2 separate regions of the Homo sapiens genome follow, and region 2 is linked to region 1. The links are contacts of gene promoters, found by promoter capture Hi-C in human tissues and cell types (Jung and others, 2019). All regions are on one chromosome and are shown on one strand. Each heading gives the region's core, a stretch centred on a gene start or on the middle of the fragment in contact. The rest is flanking DNA. Distances are from core to core; before and after follow the strand shown. Region 1 holds the start of AKAP8 (A-kinase anchoring protein 8). Region 2 overlaps HACL2 (2-hydroxyacyl-CoA lyase 2).

What was found. The method cuts DNA at HindIII sites, captures the fragments that hold promoters and counts their contacts. A contact is called where the count stands out against the background at its distance.
Region 2: a contact is called between a fragment that was not itself captured here and the fragment with the promoter of AKAP8 in region 1, in 2 of the 25 tissues and cell types used here (adrenal gland and spleen).

What each region holds. Positions count from the first base shown.
Region 1 is chr19:15,378,404-15,381,103 of GRCh38, forward strand. AKAP8 (A-kinase anchoring protein 8) reads right to left here and starts at 1,384. Exons shown (of 14, transcript NM_005858.4): 1 at 1,310-1,384. The coding sequence starts at 1,328. AKAP8L (A-kinase anchoring protein 8 like) reads right to left here. Exons shown (of 14, transcript NM_014371.4): 13 at 2,114-2,209; 14 at 1,647-2,027. The coding sequence ends at 1,719. RefSeq lists enhancers at 525-1,440, 1,375-1,669, 1,441-2,355 and silencers at 630-1,179, 1,520-2,009. The HindIII fragment of the contact is 19,214 bases long and covers 1-2,700 here.
Region 2 is chr19:15,119,428-15,122,127 of GRCh38, forward strand. HACL2 (2-hydroxyacyl-CoA lyase 2) reads right to left here. Exons shown (of 16, transcript NM_006844.5): 7 at 555-654; 8 at 1-88. Among named protein-coding and RNA genes, the nearest start is that of ILVBL-AS1, 3.4 kb to the right of the region's middle. The HindIII fragment of the contact is 6,371 bases long and covers 1-2,700 here.

The DNA.
Region 1 (2,700 bases), core at 134-2,633:
GTGTGTCTGAAAGGTTTTCGGCAGGTAGGAAGAGGGGGTAAAAAAAACCTCTCCAAACTAAGAATGAAAAGAAGGAATACAATACCTGCAGAAAAGATCTGATGGGAAAGAAGGGAAAGAATGGTGAAATCTACCCAGGCTGCGGAAGACCAGGAGAGCCAGGCTGAGCCTTCGCTAGGACCCGGAAGACACCAAAGCACACCGCGCACGCTGCCGCCTCAGGACCGAAACCTCTCTCTGCAATTTCTGGTGCTGGGATACTTTTGCCCTGCCACTTCTCAAGATCGACAACTTCTCGAGCTCCTGCAGCCAGGATCAGACCACTAGCTTCTCTACAACCAGTCGAGCTCCACCCAGCATGTCCCAACTATCCCCTGTGGGCAAACTTTGCTCCCAAAAGGCTCTGATTCCAGAAGCAGGGAGCAGGCAGCTCGAGAAGATCGGCCCTACTGCAGGCCAAGCGCTAAATCCTAGTGGGGAAAGGACACGTTCCCTCCTGCACAGCCCCTCGGCCCCTCCAGGCCACCACAACAGACTGCCTAAAGGAGAACTGCCAATGTCACCAGCCCCAGGGCACATCAGGTTTCCAGCTTTATACGAACACTCAGCATCTGCCCCTCACCATCCTGTCCCAAGCCAGCACGCGCCGGGTACAGAGCTGGAGCCCGGCGAGGCTGACTCTCGCGCCGGCAGCACTCGGCCCCACCGCGCTGCACCGGGGACTAAAGGCCCGACCCCGCGCAGCCCGACGGCTTCCGGGACAGGCGCCCTGGGCCACGTGAGCCCAGCGGAGACCCTACACGGCCCCGCGGGCCTAGGGCAGGTCGGGAGAGAGGCGGCCCCCGCGGTCCGCCCGCGGCCCCAGACCCAGCTCCCCGGGTCCGACCTCACAACCCCACGCTGTAGCTCCGCCCCCCTAGCGCCGCCATTTTGTGGCGTCTTCGGAAGAGGAAGCCGGGAGTGCAAACCCCGGGGTCGCTGGGGGCCGGAAGGACTCCGCCGAAGGTGAGGGGCAAAAACGGCCCACACTGTCTAAGACGCCCCCACGAAGCCCACCGCGGCGTCTGCCCCAACCCCGAGTCCCGCCCGCCTCCTCGGGGCCTGGCGGCCAATCCGCACGCAGAGCCCCGGGAGCGACGGCGCCAAAGCCCAATGAGCGGCGCGCGCGCGCCCTGGCCGCCTCTCCGGAGGGCCCAGCTGGGGCAACCACGCTCGGGACGAAGGCCCGGCCGGCGGCAGTCTGCGCAGCGGCTGCGTCGCCCGCACAGAGCCTTCCCTCCCCGCTCCGCACCCAGCAGCCAACACAAACCTCCGTAGCCCTGGTCCATGTCTTCGACGCGGCCCACCAGCAGCCCCGTTTACTAGGCGACCACAGCACGCATGCGTTCAGCGCACCTCCGCCATCGACTACTGGAAGACCAGGCGCACACGTCACTACTTCCGCGCGCCCCCATTGGCTGGTCTTCACGAGGGCCCGCCCTCGCCGTCCCAGCTGGCCTTTCGGGCTGCTACGATCCAGCTCCGTGGCCTAATGGGAGTTGTGGTCCCACCGCGGTGCCCGACGGCCCGGCCCGCGCGCATGCGCACCCCGCCCCTCTGCCCACCCCGCCCCGCCCGCGCGGCACAGTAACAGAGAAACCCGGAGGTGGGATGGGAAAACTTTATTAGGTTTGGTTTCCAGCTTCGGCCACGCGGGCTCCGCCCGCCCCGAGCTCGGGTCACGGGGCGCCCCCGCCGCCCTCCTCGTCGTCCTCCACGTCGAGGCCCGGGATGCCGCGGATCTGGCGTTGCAGCGCCCCTCCCAGCAAGGGCACGGCGCCCTCCTCCTCCTCCTCTGGGGGCGGCGGCGGTGGCGGCGACACGGCCCCGGGGGCTGGCTCTGGGGGCACGGGAGGCTGCGCCGGCACGCCCTCTGCGCCCTCCGAGATCCCTGCCGCTTCGCCCTGCGCCCCCTCGTCCAGGGCACCGCCCTCAGCCTCCTCCTGCTCCTTCTCCTCCTCGGGGCTGTCGGTGAAAGGGTTCTCGCCCTGTGGGGAGGGGCGCGGACACTGAAGGGAGGGAGCACAGGCGGGGACTAAGCTGGGGACAGGGCAGGCCCGGACCAGTGCCTCACCTTCAGGTAGCGCTCCAGCTTCTTGCTGATGAGCTTGTTGTTGAGAATACTGCGGGCCACCATGAGGGAGGACTTCTTGGACTGCTCCATCATGAGCTGCGGGCAGGGCAGAAGGAGCTGGAGAGGCTGCTCTGAGTGCCCTACAAGTTGCTGCCCCGACCCTGCCAGCTTAGAGGGACCCCACCCCGCCCCTGCACCCACGCACTTCCAGCCCCACCAACGGAGGGCCACTCCACAAGCATGGAACCACAACCTATCTGATCTTTGTTCAAATTCCCTCTCCTTCCACACCACACTTACTGTAGGTAAATAAAAATACAGATCTATATATCTCTAACTTTACGGCTGTATTACAGAAATCTGATTTGCTTACAAAAAAGCTATAAGCAGTGAACAATTAAGAAACTAAGAGCCAAAGGTGGGTGCAACCTGTAACAAGGTGCCAACTAGGCTAATAGGCAAGGAGCACTTTGGGGCCAACGGGGAAGATATAAAAACAGGAACAGATATTTAATGAAACGTCTTTTTTAACCCACAGAATTCCAAGAATGAAGAATTATTCCCAGTCATGCAAGGGTGAAGAGAGT
Region 2 (2,700 bases), core at 132-2,631, 260 kb before region 1:
CGGCAGACGTTGGGGTGAGCAGGGCCTGACTCCCCAGCACCATCAGAGGCCTCTTGGCCCGGCTCAGGATCTCCACACAGCGCTGAACCTGGAGCGAGAGGTGGGGATCAAAGGGCTGTCTTTTTATTTATTTATTTTTTTGAGACACAGTTTCACTCTGTTGCCCAGGATAGAGTGTAATGGCATGATCTCAGCTCACTGCAGCCTCCACCTCCCAGGTTCAAACGATTCTCCCGCCTCAGCCTCCAGAGTAGCTGGGATTACAGGCGCGTGCCACCATGCCTGGCTAACTTTTGTATTTTCAGTAGAGACAGGGTTTCACCATGTTGGCCAGGCTAGTCTTGAACTCCTGGCCTCAAGTGATCCGCCTGCCTCGGCCTCCCTAAGTGTTGGGATTGCTGCTGTGAGCCACCGCGTCCAGCCAAAGGGCCGCCCTTGAGTCGCCATGAGCACCCAAGATTAAGGCCCCAGTACTGACTCAGGGAGAGGGTCAGGGGGCCCTCTCCCCTCAGGGAGAGGGTAGGGTCCTCAGACACAAAAGAGAGGCAATTCACCTGCTGCGGGGAAGCCTGGGGGATGTCCAGGGGCAGCGGTCCCTCGGGCTGAGGCTCCCAGGCTCCTGCAAAGAGGTTGGCCAGGTAATTCTCTAAATACCTGCAAAAGGGAGGGGGAAGAAACCAAGTTGCCAGAATTAACTAACTACAAGGATTCCAGGATCTGAGCAAGGAAAGGGGCCGGGAGAAAAGCCAGGAGCAAAGTGGCATGGGGACAGGGTGGATGAGTGACACCTCAGGGACAGACGAACCCTAGTGGCCAGGTCTTCAACTGCCTGTTTGCCCTCGGTAGCCTCTGGGGTCCACCCCAACTCCACGTAGCCCCCCAGAAGCAAGGAACGCAGGCTCAGCATGCCAGGATTAAGCCTGTGGGTCCAACAGATGTGAGCTCAAGTCCTGGCTCTGTCACTTCCTAGCTGTGCAACTTAGGGCAAGTGACTTCACCCTTCTGAGCTTCCACCTCTGTCAATGTAAATATGAACCTCCCTCCCCAGGTTCAAGGATCTGTCCACTTAGGACATGAGGCGCTTTGCATGGGAGTTCTGAACACTGTCCTCTCCTGCTTCAAACAGGGTCTTCTCGGTCTCCTTGCTCACTGGGCCCCAGGGCCCCAACTTTCCTGAAGGACCTGTGCAGGGCCCTGGAGACACAAAGATAGATCCTGCCCAGCCCTCCCCTCAGGGGGCGCTCTATCCAGCGAAAGACAGACACATGGGCATTGGCAGGAAACAGTCGGAGCTCAGAGTCAGAAGCCTCTGCTTTCACCGTTAAGGACAGGCCAAGACAGCACAGAAGCAGCCCAGGATGGAACCGTGGGAAGCCCCGCAAGTAAAGAAAAGGCAAGGGAGGCTGAGGCAGGAGGATTGCTCGAGGCCAGGAGTTCAAGGCTGTGGTGAGCTATGATCATACCACTGCACTCCAGCCTGGGTGATAGAGTGAGGCCCTGTCTCAAAACAAAACAAAACAAAAAAGGCAAGATAAGAGATAGCCTTGTGAGAGGCAGCCCAAGAGAGAGGGGCAAGGAGAACAAGGGGAGGGACTGACTGGGAAGCCAGGGGGCAAAGTGCATTAAGAATGAGGCTATATGACCAAAATGGTGAAACCTCATCTCTACTAAAAATACAAAAATTAGCTGGGTATGGTGGACTGCACCTGTATTCCCAGCTACTCCGGGGGCTGAGGCAGGAGAATCACTTGAACCCGGGAGGTGGAGGTTGCAGTGAGCCAAGATCGCACTACTGCGCTCCAACCTGGGGGACAAAGCGAGACTCCGTCTCAAAAAAAATAAAGAGGCCATAGAACAAAATCACTACTGCCTGAGCTGACCCTCAGGCGCTTCACACACATCCGGAGTACAGGAGCCTGACTACCTTGTCCACTGATGATGCCCCGTGCCTGTCCTGGAACCTGGCACATGGCTGCCGCTCGCTAAATGTATGGAAAGGAAGGGCCAAGGACAGGCAAAGGGAAGGGACTGAGGGGAAGGGAGAGAAGGAGGAAGAAGAGGAAGAGGAGGAGGAGAAGAAAGGAAAGGAAGAAGAAGAAGAGAAGAGGCCAGGCGCAGTGGCTCATGTCTGTAATGTTTGAGAGGCCGAGGAGGGTGGATCACTTGAGGTTAAGAGTTCAAGACCAGCCTGGCCAACATGATGAAACCTCGTCTCTACTAAAAATACAAGTATTAGCCAGGTGTGGTGGCGGGCGCCTGTAGTCCCAGCTACTCAGAAGGCTGAGGCAGGAAAATCACTTGAACCCAGGGGGAGGCGGAGGTTGCAGTGAGCCGAGATCACGCCACTGCACTCAAGCCTAGGCAACAGAACGAAGAATCTGTTTCAAAAAAAAAAAAAAAGAAAGAAAAGGACAAAGATGTGAGGGAAGGAAAGGAGGAGGAAGGAGAGGGCTCGAGTCTGGGCTCTGCCACTTTTTTTTTTTTTTTTGAGACGGAGTCTTGCTCTGTCACCCAGGCTGGAGTGCAGTAGCACGATCTTGGCTCACTGCAAGCTCCACCTCCTGGGTTCACGCCATTCTCCTGCCGCAGCCTCCCAAGTAGCTGGGACTACAGGCGCCCGCCACCACGCCCGGCTAATTTTTTTTTTTTTTGTATTTTTAGTAGAGATGGGGTTTCACCATGTTAGCCAGGATGGTCTCG